Linked DNA regions of Homo sapiens: all the other regions are linked to region 1. Evidence: promoter capture Hi-C in 16 types of primary human blood cells and fetal thymus (Javierre and others, 2016). All regions are on one chromosome and are shown on one strand. Each heading gives the region's core, a stretch centred on a gene start or on the middle of the fragment in contact. The rest is flanking DNA. Distances are from core to core; before and after follow the strand shown.

What was found. The method cuts DNA at HindIII sites, captures the fragments that hold promoters and counts their contacts. A CHiCAGO score of 5 or more calls a contact.
Region 2: a contact is called between a fragment that was not itself captured here and the fragment with the promoter of RLBP1 in region 1, in 1 of 17 cell types (neutrophils). The highest score is 5.6, in neutrophils.
Region 3: a contact is called between a fragment that was not itself captured here and the fragment with the promoter of RLBP1 in region 1, in 2 of 17 cell types (neutrophils and M1 macrophages). The highest score is 8.4, in neutrophils.
Region 4: a contact is called between a fragment that was not itself captured here and the fragment with the promoter of RLBP1 in region 1, in 2 of 17 cell types (monocytes and erythroblasts). The highest score is 5.4, in monocytes.

Annotation. Positions count from the first base shown.
Region 1 is chr15:89,219,687-89,223,251 of GRCh38, reverse strand. It overlaps RLBP1 (retinaldehyde binding protein 1), which reads left to right and starts at 1,673. Exons shown (of 9, transcript NM_000326.5): 1 at 1,673-1,717; 2 at 3,393-3,515. The HindIII fragment of the contact is 10,964 bases long and covers 1-3,565 here.
Region 2 is chr15:89,017,948-89,021,512 of GRCh38, reverse strand. No RefSeq gene overlaps it. Among named protein-coding and RNA genes, the nearest start is that of CARMAL, 21 kb to the left of the region's middle. The HindIII fragment of the contact is 4,802 bases long and covers 1-3,565 here.
Region 3 is chr15:89,038,204-89,041,768 of GRCh38, reverse strand. CARMAL (coronary artery disease region linked MFGE8 regulatory lncRNA) reads right to left here and starts at 771. Exons shown (of 4, transcript NR_183882.1): 1 at 469-771. It also overlaps a transcript of ABHD2 not described here. The HindIII fragment of the contact is 2,351 bases long and covers 785-3,135 here.
Region 4 is chr15:89,056,000-89,059,564 of GRCh38, reverse strand. All of the region lies in intron 1 of CARMAL (coronary artery disease region linked MFGE8 regulatory lncRNA), which reads right to left. It also overlaps a transcript of ABHD2 not described here. Among named protein-coding and RNA genes, the nearest start is that of CARMAL, 17 kb to the right of the region's middle. RefSeq lists an enhancer at 1-230. The HindIII fragment of the contact is 778 bases long and covers 1,272-2,049 here.

The sequences.
Region 1 (3,565 bases), core at 424-2,923:
AAGCTGAGATCGCACCACTGCACTCCCGCCTGGGTGACAGAGCGAGACTCTGTCCCCTGCCAGACTCCCACAAAAATTTAGTTCTTGGGTCGTATTACCCTATTTATAAAAATTTTTTTTATAGTGAGACCCAATCTCTAGCATTACCCCATTTCGAATGCTGAAAAGCTACATGGGGCTAGCGGCTACTATATAAGACAGCATAGGACTAGACCACCAGGAAGAAGAATGACATAAATGAAGGATCCCCAGCTCCACAGAGGACTTGGGACAGAAACAGCCCAAGACCCAGACAGCAGCCAGAGTAGGAGCCCAGGGAAAGGGCTTTTGGAAACAAAGAGCTCAAGGTGACTCAAATGCACCCCAAGATCTAAGCACCAGGCATTGCAGCCTGCTCTGGAGGAAGGGGTCGGCAGGAGATGGGGTGGTGGGAAGAAATCCCAAACCTGCCAAAGTAGGAATGGGTGGAAAAGCAAGAACTATGTCCAGGGAAAATAAAAAAGCACTTCTGGGGTTGGATTCTGGAGAGCGACCTGTGCAGGGGAGCTTGACCTTCTCCTGGGCACCTCTAGGAGGCAAAACCAGGACCAAGGGTGGTCATTATAGGAAGCTGCTTGGGGCTCAAACCAACAATGAGGTTTTAAACAAGGAGAGCTCCCCAGTAATGGAAACAGGGAGCTTCCCGCCCTTGGAATCCTAGACAGAAAATGTTCTACAGGAATTACCTCCTCCTCATCCAGTGGAATAGCAAAACAGAGGCTGGGAAGTTACCTGTTGAGAGGCTGCAGAGGGGTTTCTTCCTGTACAAAGGATTGAATAATAAGTTCCCTCCAGTTAGGCACCTATTGATACTGTATTTGGAGTAACTGACCTTTCCAGAGGACTTATTGTCAGGCAGCTAAACCCCTGAACTAAGCACTTTACTGCCATTTCATCCGCACTAAAGTCATGAGCCTGGTCCTCTAGTTTTCTACACTTCTTAGAGGAGGAAACTGAGCCGATGAGTTTTGAAGTCATGTTTCCCGGCCAGAAGATGCTCGAGCGAGGCTTTACAGGCGGGCAGTCTGGTTCCAGGGCATGCCACTGCACCACACTGCCCAGAAGGAGGCTCAGCCTGTCTTGTCCTCTCCCTGCTTGGCCTTAACCAGCCACATTTCTCAACTGACCCCACTCACTGCAGAGGTGAAAACTACCATGCCAGGTCCTGCTGGCTGGGGGAGGGGTGGGCAATAGGCCTGGATTTGCCAGAGCTGCCACTGTAGATGTAGTCATATTTACGATTTCCCTTCACCTCTTATTACCCTGGTGGTGGTGGTGGGGGGGGGGGGGTGCTCTCTCAGCAACCCCACCCCGGGATCTTGAGGAGAAAGAGGGCAGAGAAAAGAGGGAATGGGACTGGCCCAGATCCCAGCCCCACAGCCGGGCTTCCACATGGCCGAGCAGGAACTCCAGAGCAGGAGCACACAAAGGAGGGCTTTGATGCGCCTCCAGCCAGGCCCAGGCCTCTCCCCTCTCCCCTTTCTCTCTGGGTCTTCCTTTGCCCCACTGAGGGCCTCCTGTGAGCCCGATTTAACGGAAACTGTGGGCGGTGAGAAGTTCCTTATGACACACTAATCCCAACCTGCTGACCGGACCACGCCTCCAGCGGAGGGAACCTCTAGAGCTCCAGGACATTCAGGTACCAGGTAGCCCCAAGGAGGAGCTGCCGACCTGGCAGGTAAGTCAATACCTGGGGCTTGCCTGGGCCAGGGAGCCCAGGACTGGGGTGAGGACTCAGGGGAGCAGGGAGACCACGTCCCAAGATGCCTGTAAAACTGAAACCACCTGGCCATTCTCCAGGTTGAGCCAGACCAATTTGATGGCAGATTTAGCAAATAAAAATACAGGACACCCAGTTAAATGTGAATTTCAGATGAACAGCAAATACTTTTTTAGTATTAAAAAAGTTCACATTTAGGCTCACGCCTGTAATCCCAGCACTTTGGGAGGCCGAGGCAGGCAGATCACCTGAGGTCAGGAGTTCGAGACCAGCCTGGCCAACATGGTGAAACCCCATCTCCACTAAAAATACCAAAAATTAGCCAGGCGTGCTGGTGGGCACCTGTAGTTCCAGCTACTCAGGAGGCTAAGGCAGGAGAATTGCTTGAACCTGGGAGGCAGAGGTTGCAGTGAGCTGAGATCGCACCATTGCACTCTAGCCTGGGCGACAAGAACAAAACTCCATCTCAAAAAAAAAAAAAAAAAAAAAGTTCACATTTAACTGGGCATTCTGTATTTAATTGGTAATCTGAGATGGCAGGGAACAGCATCAGCATGGTGTGAGGGATAGGCATTTTTTCATTGTGTACAGCTTGTAAATCAGTATTTTTAAAACTCAAAGTTAATGGCTTGGGCATATTTAGAAAAGAGTTGCCGCACGGACTTGAACCCTGTATTCCTAAAATCTAGGATCTTGTTCTGATGGTCTGCACAACTGGCTGGGGGTGTCCAGCCACTGTCCCTCTTGCCTGGGCTCCCCAGGGCAGTTCTGTCAGCCTCTCCATTTCCATTCCTGTTCCAGCAAAACCCAACTGATAGCACAGCAGCATTTCAGCCTGTCTACCTCTGTGCCCACATACCTGGATGTCTACCAGCCAGAAAGGTGGCTTAGATTTGGTTCCTGTGGGTGGATTATGGCCCCCAGAACTTCCCTGTGCTTGCTGGGGGTGTGGAGTGGAAAGAGCAGGAAATGGGGGACCCTCCGATACTCTATGGGGGTCCTCCAAGTCTCTTTGTGCAAGTTAGGGTAATAATCAATATGGAGCTAAGAAAGAGAAGGGGAACTATGCTTTAGAACAGGACACTGTGCCAGGAGCATTGCAGAAATTATATGGTTTTCACGACAGTTCTTTTTGGTAGGTACTGTTATTATCCTCAGTTTGCAGATGAGGAAACTGAGACCCAGAAAGGTTAAATAACTTGCTAGGGTCACACAAGTCATAACTGACAAAGCCTGATTCAAACCCAGGTCTCCCTAACCTTTAAGGTTTCTATGACGCCAGCTCTCCTAGGGAGTTTGTCTTCAGATGTCTTGGCTCTAGGTGTCAAAAAAAGACTTGGTGTCAGGCAGGCATAGGTTCAAGTCCCAACTCTGTCACTTACCAACTGTGACTAGGTGATTGAACTGACCATGGAACCTGGTCACATGCAGGAGCAGGATGGTGAAGGGTTCTTGAAGGCACTTAGGCAGGACATTTAGGCAGGAGAGAAAACCTGGAAACAGAAGAGCTGTCTCCAAAAATACCCACTGGGGAAGCAGGTTGTCATGTGGGCCATGAATGGGACCTGTTCTGGTAACCAAGCATTGCTTATGTGTCCATTACATTTCATAACACTTCCATCCTACTTTACAGGGAACAACCAAGACTGGGGTTAAATCTCACAGCCTGCAAGTGGAAGAGAAGAACTTGAACCCAGGTCCAACTTTTGCGCCACAGCAGGCTGCCTCTTGGTCCTGACAGGAAGTCACAACTTGGGTCTGAGTACTGATCCCTGGCTATTTTTTGGCTGTGTTACCTTGGACAAG
Region 2 (3,565 bases), core at 331-2,830, 200 kb after region 1:
CAGGCTAAGAACTTTCTCAAATATGGTAAAAACGCCCATTTGGCACAGCCCGTCCTTAGTAAGCCCATACTAGAGCCTTGTCTAGTTCACCAGCCTGCAATTCTTGGAAACTGCTTGTTCCTCTTTTAGAAAATTAGAACAACATTTGCCCATTTCCAGTCAGGTGGGGCCTCACCCATTCTCCAAAATTCTTCCAAGATTATAAACACTAGTGGAGCCTTGGAATTTACCACAGCAGCCCTTGTTGACTTTAGCTTTTTTATTTTTTTCTTTTTAAACCAGCCTCACCTCTTTCTATGCTTTATTTCCCCCCTATATTCTCTTTCTATGGGACTCTATCGTTTAAAAAATATTTGTCTTGGCCCAGTATGGTGGCTCATACCTGTAGTCCCAGCACATTGGGAGGCTAAGGCAGGAGGATCACTTGAGCCCAGGAGTTCGAGACCAGCCTGAGCAACATGGCAAAATCTAGTCTTTATGAAAAATACAAAAATTAGCCAGGTGTGGTGGCAGCTACTCAGGAAGCTGAGGTGGCAGCTACTAGTCCCATCCACTCAGGAAGATGAGGTGGAAGGATTCCTTGAGCCCAAGAAGTAAAGGCTGTGGTAAGCCTTGGTTGTGCCACTGCACTCCAGCCTGGGTGACAGAGCAAGACCCTGTCTCAATAAAATAAAAAATGAAAAATAATTTGTCTTTACTCTGACAGACCAGGTTTTTGGTTTGCTTGTTTGTTTGTTTTTTGAGATGGAGTTTCATTCTCATTGCCCAGGCTGGAGTGCAATGGCACAATCTTGGCTCATCGCAACCTCCAACTCCCGGGTTCAAGTGATTATCCTGCCTCAGCCTCCTGAGTAGCTGGGATTACAGGCATGCACCACCACACCCAGCTAATTTTGTATTTTTAGTAGAGATGGGGTTTCTCCATGTTGGTTAGTCTGGCCTCGAACTCCCGACCTCAGGAGATCCGCCCACCTCAGCCTCCCAAAGTGCTGGGATTACAGGAGTGAGCCACTGCGCCTGGCCTCAGACCAGGTTTTGACTCTTTCTTCTCACATACCTCTTCCCCCACTTACATCCAGTCAAATGCAGAATCCCATCATAGTTGTGCCATCTTAGGCAAATCACCTAAATTCTCTGTAGCTCAGTGTTCTCTTCTGTAAAATGGAGGAGTTGAACTGGTTGGTCACTGAGGTCCCTTGGAAGACTATCTTTGGGTTAGGGATCCCTTTGACAATTGGTTAAAAACAGTGGCCCCGGGGCCAGGTACAGTGGCTCACGCCTGTAATCCTAGCACTTTGGGAGGCCGAGGTGGGCAGATCACTTGAGGTCAGGAGTTCCATACCAGTCTGGTCAACATGGTGAAACCCCGTCTCTACTAAGAATACAAAAATTAGCCGGGCACGGTGGTGGGCGCCTGTAATCCCAGCTACCCAGGAAGCTAAGGCAGGAGAATCACTTGAACCCGGGAAGCGGAGGTTGCATTGAGCCAAGATCACGCCATTGCACTCCAGCCTGGGTAACAAGAGCGAGACTCCATATCAAAACAAACAAACAAACAAACAAAAACAAACAACCCCCCCCAAACCAAACAAAACAAAAACGGTGGCCCTTCATTTCAGAAAAGCAATCCCATGTCATGTACTGGCTGACTTTGTTTTGTCTGCTACAACCATCATCCCCTTCTTTCAGGGGACATTTCTCCCCCACGCCTACTGTTTGGCTCTGGATGGGAGACCAATGAAAGTACCCCATCTCACTCTGCCCAGAAGAGTGGGTACTTCAAGTCCTTTTCTGTTGGTTTGTTTGGTTTGTTCTTCTTTTAAACGGAACTGGGAGGGAAGGTTTCTTTTCCTTTTTGGTAGAGGACCAAGGTTATGAATCTTGAACTGCCTGGGGCCATATTTCCTGGTGTGCATAGAAAGCCCTTCTGTGTGGAAGAGAAGAAAGGCTGCAGAGAGGGGGAAGCCCAGAGTTTGGGGAAAGTGGGTGAAGTAGGAAGGGGAAGGGTGGGGGTTATGGGAAAGGGGAGAGAAATTCTTGCTGGCATTCAGTCCCGGATTCCACTGTCACTGAAGCTCAGCACATTCTTCCTATCCTTTGGCTCAGTGAATCAATAAATTCCTTTTTGTTATTGTTGTTTAAGTGAATTTTAGTTGATGAACTGACATTAGCAGCAGAATGAGTCCTGATTAGCAGAGGCACTACCTTCCCCTGCTTTGCATTGTTGACCCTGATATTTTCATACTGCCTCGCGTTTCTTGTCCTCATTCTCATTGTCCTCAGATTCTAACCTCTTTTAAGGCATCTTTAAAATATCTTACACAACTCTTACACCAGTGCTCAATTGGGTCTGAGGGAATTAAACAGAACTTTATTTTCTCACATGTCCCCATGTTATTACCCTCTCTCCCACTGGACTATACATTTTTGGATGACAAAGACACTATTTTCTAATGTTTATAAGTTCCTTTAAAATAGGCCAGGCATGGAGGCTTACACCTGTAATCCCAGCACTTTGAGAGACCGAGGTGGGCAAATCACTTCAGGTCAGGAGTTCAAGACCAGTCTGGCCAACATGGCGAAACCCCATCTCTACTAAAAATACAAAAATTAGCTAGTGTGGTGGTGAGTGCCTGTAATCCCAACTACTTGGGAGGCTGAGGTACAAGAATCGTTTGAGCCCAGGAGGCTGAGGTTGCAGTGAGCTGAGATCATGTCACTGCACTCCAGCCTGGGTGACAGAGGGAAACTCTTGTCTCAATAAATAAATAATAAATGTTCCTGAAAACTGCTGTACACATAGTAGGAACCCAAAAATGCTGGAGATTGTGATGATGGTGGTGACCGTGTCATGAAAGGAGCCCATCTCATTGAGTGCCAGTGTCACTGAGAGGCTGTGAATCAAACGATTGACAAGGTCGCAGGGCCACAGTGGATATCCTTCTGCTAGGAGTCCTGAGGTCCAGCCTAGAAGCTAAGAGTACGTGTGACCCCCCTCACAGGCCCCCTGGGAATTTCAGTTGGGCCTGGCTGACTGGCTGGGCAGCAGCTCAGGAATTTCTCCTGATGAATGGAGCACTGGGCAGTGAGACAAGATACTGACAGGAGTGGCTAAAGCCATGGTCTATTTTTAACATTAGGGCCAGAGTGCCCTGGCACGGCTAGCGGATCTCTGACCTAAGGCCCTGAGAAGCTCCTGAAATTATAGTGAGGAAGCTCTGTGCATACGCAGCACACACATGCACACATCACGGATGTTGTCAGCAGATAATACAAATAATATGCCTTATCTATTTATGTAAGTGCAATTTTTCAGAAACATTTTCTCCAGCAATAGAAATTAAAAGCACATATTAATCATGAGTATTTCAGGAGTAGAGGGTGGATGCTTGAGGGTGTGATGCCGACATTGAGGTGTTTAGACTTGCAAAAGGATCCTTTATATCCGGAAAGCAGAGTCCGGTGGGCTCTGACAAGAGAAATGTCGTCAGCCAAACGCAGGATCCCTGGCAGAGCAGAGGTGGGTCAGTGTTTCCCAGCCTTGACTGCACACTGTGATCCCCAG
Region 3 (3,565 bases), core at 711-3,210, 180 kb after region 1:
GGTGTGTCATGCCTGGTCAGCAGGGCAGACCGAGGGGCAGAGCTGCTTTCCCCAGCAGGGGAATAGAGTTGCGCCTTGCCTCAACTCTGCCTCTCACTGGCCTCAGTTTTCTTCTTAGTGGACTCCTAGGACATCTACCCAGATGCCCGGACAGAGGCACAGGCTTGGCTCAGGTCTTCCAGCCAATGAATAGCCAAGGCCGGATTCACACTAGGACAGTCTGGCTTTTAACTGCTGCACTAAGAGTCACTGCAGTAGATCCAGACATCAAGGAAGGTTCCCAGAGTCCTGGTGCCTCTGTGCCCTTAGGCGGGTGAATACTGATGGGTGGAGACAGAATTGTTACAAATATATAATAAATAAGTTATAGTAAAGCAGAATTCAATCCGAAACTCAGAAGAAAAGCAGTCCCCTCCATTCTATTGCAAACCACCTCTAAACTTCGTGGCTTAAAACCACAAAACTCACATTTGCTCATGATTCTGCAACGTGGGCAGAGCTCGGCAGCGGCAGTTCATCTCTGTTCCACATGGCATCAGCTGAGGCTGCTCCACCGAGGCTGCAGGATCCAGTTCCAGAATGGCACACTCACGTCACTGGAAGTTGATGCTGGCTGGCAGCCAGGGCCTCCTCTTGGCCTCCTTACACAGTTAAGTTAAACTTCTGCAGCACAATAGTTGGGTTCCAAGTGGGAGCATCCCAGGAGGAAGCATCCCAGGCCAGGGGTAGGCACTTTTCAAGCCTCTGCTGGCATCTTCTTGCTAGAGCCCTATTGGCCAAAGCTTGTCAGCTGACCAAGCCCAGAGTCAGTGTGGGAGGAGACTACACACAGTGGTGAATACTGGGAGCTGTGGTTTACCGAAGTGTCTGTCTGTCTGAACTTCTTTTTCCTAAGGCTCGCTTTGGTGCTCCTCACATTCTCCCATCAGCCTCCTCTGAAACCTGGTTCCATCCAGTATCCTCTCTCTCACCTCGTCCATTGCTCCTTCTTCAACGAATCCCTCCTTTCAGCCAACAGACCCACTCAAGCCACAGCTATCCCCGAACAGCTCCGTTCAGCCCTGCGTCTCCCTCAGGGTGCCGTCCTGTCTCCCTCCATTCCTTTGCTTCCAAAACCCTTCAAATAGCTGCTGAATGCTGGAAGCAGAAAAAGTTCCCTAAAGCCAATTTGCTACATTTATGAAATATTCTAGGCTGGGCACTGTGTCTCACGCCTGTAATCCCAACACTTTGGGAGGCCAAGGCGGGCGGATCACAAGGTCAAGAGATCAAGACCACCCTGACCAACATGGTGAAACCCCGCCTCTCCTAAAAATACAAAAATTATCTGGGTGTGGTGGCACGCACCTGTAGTCCCAGCTTCTTGGGAGGCTGAGGCAGGAGAATCGCTTGAATCCAGGAGGCAGAGGTTGTAGTGAGCCAAGATCGTGCCACTGCACTCCAGCCCGGCAACAGAGCCAGACTCTGCCTCAAAAAAAAAAAAAAAAAAAAAGTGAAATATTCTGATTTGTCCATTCTAAAGAATTTTTTCTTTAATGTTTTCAATGAATACGAATATATACTGTTAATGAATGCATTAGTAAATATATTCAAGAATATACTCTTATGAATATAAATAAAAATCTATTGATAAGAAGTCTAAACTACTCGATGACTCTTAGGTTCCAGCAAGCCCATAGTCTGTGAATAGATTCACAAGTGGAATATATTCATATTCACTGAGAAAAACTTTCTTCAAAATTTTTGACAAATTTGCCAAAATTGGCACACATCTCTTAATTAAAAAATTTCATCCCTCCTTTCTTCCATCCATTCATCCATCCAACGGATATTTATTTGAATGCCATGACATGCTCAGCACTGGGGCATAGTGTGGTTGAACACAGACCCAGCCCCGGCCCTCATAGAGTTTACAGTCTAGTAGGGGAGACAGTTACTCATTAAGTGATCATTTCAAACAAACCCTGAAACTGGCCGGGTGCCATGACTCATGCCTGTAATCCCAGCACTTTTGGAGGCCAAGATGAGAGGATCACTTGAGGTCAGGAGTTCGAGACCAGCCTGGCCAACACGGTGAAACCCCGTCTCTACTAAAAATACAAAAATCAGCTGGGTGTGGTGGCGGGTGCCTGTAATCCCAGCTACTCCGGAGGCTGAGGCAGGAAAACTGCTTGAACCCAGGAGGTGGAAGTTGCAGCGAGCTGAGATCGCGCCACTGCACTCCAGCCTGGGTGACAGAGTGAGACTCTGTCTCAATTAAAAAAAAAAAAAGAACACTGAAATTGCAATCTTGACCAGTGCTACCATACCTTTTCCAGCTCATGACACGCCCTTTGGCACGCACTGCTTTGGAATTTTGATCATACTGCTCCCTTTGCTGGCAATGCTCTTTCCCGCTTTCCCTGCTTGGCATATGCAGCTTAATTTTAAGACCCCAGTCAACAGCGCTCACTGTGGCTCTGGCTCCTATCCCCAGGAAAGATGAACTGCTCCATTATTTATGTTCTAGCAGCACTTGGCATAAACTTCTAGCAGTGAACATATCAAACCATAATATATTATATCTGTGTCTCTTCTATTAGATCGTAAGTGCAATAGGGTCAAGAATTCTGTCTTCAGAGGCTTGGGTGGAGTGAGTGTGCATGTTTAAAAAGAGAGAAGTTTACAAAAATGTTTAAAAAGAAAGAAGTCGGGGGGTGGGGGGCGGGTGGGCAGGCGCAGTGGCTCACGCCTGTAATCCCAGCACTTTGGGAGGCAGAGGGGGCCAGATAGCTTGAGCTGAGTTTAAGACCAGCCTGGGCAACATGGTGAAATCCCATCTCTACAAAAACATACAAAAAAAAAAAAAAAAAATTAGCTGGCTGTGATGGCAAGCACCTGTAGTCCCAGCTACTCAGGAAGCAAAGGTGGGAGGATTGCTTGAGCCTGGGAGGTCGAGGCTGCAGTGAGCTGTGATCGCCCTTTGCACTCCAGCCTGGGAGACAGAGTGAGACCCTGCCTCAGAAAAAAAGGTATCCTTACCTGACATGGAAAAATTCCTCTGGGCACCCATTAGGGGACAGACACCTCCATTTACACTCATCCTTTTAAAGCCTCTTATAATTTGACCCACAATATAGACATCAAAAATAAGCTTGAGGGAGGCCCAGCAGCCATGGTGGCAGACAGGGCTGGCAGGTAAGGCTCTGGTGGCCACTGACTTGAGGGAGAGCAGCCTGCTGACCTCAGCCAGGGCTGCAGCAGTGGGGCCAGTGCCAGACAAGGTGCTCCAAGGGGCTAGGACCAAGTGCAGTCATCTTTGCCTCTCTGGCATCTAGCAGCATTGACTAGATGCTCACACACTCGAGAAATACGTGTTAAGTGAACGGTCCCTGTGACAATCAAGCAGACTTTTTTCTTTCCGATGACACACCTCCTCTGGCCGCCACTGTCACCCTGCAGAGCAGAATCACTCTTCTGCGGGGAAGCTGGAAGGGAAACAGGCCAGGACAGCCTGGGTGAAGCAGGACTGTGTTTTGATGAGCTGAGCAAGCCTGGGTGCGGGACCCTGAGGTTACGTAGCAGA
Region 4 (3,565 bases), core at 411-2,910, 160 kb after region 1:
GAGGTTTTTTTCCCCTTTCATTTCATCCATACCACTGTCTGCCCAACATTGTGACAAGAAATTCAGGGCTGCCTTCCCAAGTTATGAGTTGTGACCAATGATCAACCTAACGAATTTTGATCAGATCTGTGGGTCAGAAAATTGGAACAGGAAGTAATCTGTAGGCGTCTCCCAGGGACAAATAAATAGCCAGTTTGGATTTCCTCCAGGTCTGGTCTAGGCAGGTAGGTGGTCAGAACCATGCCAGCTTGTCTAGCCACAGCGAACATTTTGTGAGGATGTGAGTGGGTGTCAAGTGGCTCGCCTGGGTGGGCAGATGTACCCCTCTTCCTGGATCCCCTGGCATATGGGCATTGGTGAGACTGCAGAGCTGTGACCAGGTACAGCAGAGAAGAGAGCCCCAAACATGGAAGAGGGCATGATGGGAGATGCTGGAGAGGAGAGAAAATTTCCATTTGGCTTTTTGAGCTTCTTGTCAGGTCCTCAGAGCACAGCAACTTGGCAGCTCTCTGCGTGCCCCATTCCTAGTCTTCCTTCATGAATTTTTCATTTCAGGCAAAGAGCCCTTATCTTTCGCTGGAGCTGCTTTCCCATCAGCTGGTGACTAGGCAGATGAAGGTTGCATTAAGGCAGGAATTATCCATCCCTTGAGAGAGAAATGGCACTCTGTGCCCTTGAAAGGATGGCTTCTGCGCCACCACCCATTACTGCAGGCTTCTGTCCAACGTTGGATTGCTGTTTTTATTGAGATATTGTTGAGGGCTGAAAGAGAAAGGCTTCAAGGGCAGATACTATGGTCTTGTCTGAAGAGTGAGGTCTTTCCTGCTGCCAATCATTGGACATGAGGGGGCTCCACAGCAGGAAAGAGGAATTAAGAAGGGACTTGGCCTGTCACAACCCAGATTTCCAGGAGTCTCGATGTCCAGGGGCACTCCTGAGGGATGGAGGGAGTTAAGGATGTCATCTCTCCTTGTCCCCATCCCCTGGGCCCAGAGCAGGAGAAGCTCCTGCTGTGCACCTCCTCGGGCCATGTTCCTTTCTACAAAGGGAGTCCATACACCCACCCAAGACTAGGCTCCGTGTACCAGGACCCCAGAGTTTCTGTCCAAATTACAGCAAGCCCTCTTCTGTGCCTGCGGGGCATCTTCATTTTCTCTAGGTCTCTCTTCCCAAGAGTGGACCTCACTACCTGTGTTCACATGCTAGGTACTAGGAGTGGCCAAGGGGTAGCTGTTTTCAGGGTTGTAAGGGGTGTGGGTGTGGAGGAAGCTTGGATGTGTGAGCTGGAGTATCCACACGTATGTGAGGCTCCTCACGATCTGAAAGGATGAGCGTGGGTGGGTGGACCTGGGGCCAGAAGTGGAGAGCCAGGGGAATGGATCTCCAAGGAGGCTGAAAATCCTAAAAGTCAACCTGGTCTTTTAGGTGGTTATGAAGGTATCTACCTCAAGGCGGAAGGATGGAGCATACTTCATTTAAGGGTTTATCAGCTTGACTGAACAACTTGAAAATATGCAGACATAGAGTATGTGAGCTTCCATTCGTTCTCTTGCCTGGCGCCCCACAAATGTTGGTGGGCTTAATTTGTAAGTGGGGAGCTAGGGAGTCCTAGTCCTGGGGTCCCTGATGGACTGGGTAGAGGGCGAAGAGCTGCAGGAAAGAAGTCAGACCTGGCAAACTAAAGTTTTGACTCACGGTGTCCCCTGAATCTATCTTCGTTTTCTTAGTCCTCAGCTTTTAGGACAGTGTGATTGGAAAGTTCTGGCAGGTTTGTTTCTTTCTTTTTTTTTTTTCATTCCTTCTTATTAATAGCGGGTTTCACTGGGAAGCCGCATGGTGGCAATAGATGGCCCCAGTTGGAGAGGGAGCAGCGCCACCCTGAGGCCATGGAGGGAATGGCAGCAGGAATGGGGGTGAGCCCAACGGGGCCTGCCTCTCAGGAGCCCATGCACCAGGCACGCCCCCACCGTGATTCCACGACCATGGCTAAACAAGAAGGGGCTGTATTCTTACCCTCTTACCAAAAATAGCATTTTCACCATTGAAGCTTCCCAAAGAACTCTCAGCTGTTTGCTAACCATGAAAATCAATCCTTGGAGTTCCAGAGGCGGCCAGTCCCCAACTTCCCAGTGGTCACTGTGTAACCCCTGCCCTACCTCATCTTCAGAAACCCCATCATCACTGCGCCAAACCCCAAAGGGAAGTGGAGATGAAGGAAGGGAATTAGCTATGAGCAGCTTAGAAGAGCTAACCCGGGGGTGGCTTCTCAAGCAGAACTCACATGCTTACAAAGGGGCTTCAATAGATCCTTTACCCTTTTCACTTAACACTTTTAAAAATGGTATCACGCTGGCCTAGCGCAGTGGCTCATGCTTGTAATCCCAGCACTTTGGGAGGCTGACGCAGGCGGATCACCTGAGGTCAGGAGTTCAAGACCAGCCTGCTAACACGGTGAAACCCCATTTCTACTAAAAATACAAAAAATTAGCCGGGCGTGGTGGCGTGTGCCTGTAATCCCAGCTACTCAGGAGGCTGAGGCAGGAGAATCGCTTGAACCCGGGAGGCGGAGATTGCAGTGAGCCGAGATGGCGCCATTGCACTCCAGCTTGGGCAACAAGCGCAAAACTCCATCTCAAAAAAAAAAAAAAAAAAAAAAGGTATCACTTATAAACTGGATTAACAGTGTGAAAAAAATTTAATGCCTACTGACTATATTTCCTGACTGCCTGCACACAAACTCTGACAGGTAGAGATTGCTATTGTCCCATTTTACAGACAAGAAAACTGAGGCCCAGTGAGGTGAATGACTCACTCAAGGTCATGTTGTAATAAGTAGTGCTGCTGGGTCTGATTTTTTTCATTGCACTGTTCTATCTTTTGCAAGCACCCTGAAGGAATTTTATTTTTTTATTTTATTTTTTTGAGATGGAGTCTTGCTCTGTCGCCCAGGCTGGAGTGCAGTGGTGCGAACTCGGCTCACTGCAAATTCCACCTCCCGGGTTCACGTCATTCTCCTGCCTCAGCCTCCTGAGTAGCTGGGACCACAGGCACCTGCCACCATGCCTGGCTAATTTTTTTGTATTTTTAGTAGAGACGGGGTTTCACCGTGTTAGCCAGGATGGTCTCGATCTGTGCCCGGTGCCTGAAGGAATTAAAGATTCAAATTCCTGCCACAATCCTGCACTGGGGCATGGTGTTCTTTCTTACTGTGTCATTCAAGTTGCAAAATCCATACATATTCTTGTAACTAAGCAAATATCTCCAATGCCATCTCCTGAGGTGAGCAATATTAACAGTTTTGTGAGTTTTTTTCCTATTATTTTCCCTAGGAAGATACGAATAGTTACAAATTAAAAATTCGTAGAGGGATTCCCACCTCCATTTACAAAATTTTAATTAAAAGCAAAAATCAGGCTAGGCGTGGCAGCTCACATCTGTAATCCCAGCACTTTGGGAGTCTGTGGTCAGAGGATTGCTTGAGGCCAGGAGTTTGAGACCAGCCTGTGCAACATAGGCAGACTCTGTCTCTACAAAATATTTTTAAAAATTAGCTGGGCATGGTGAC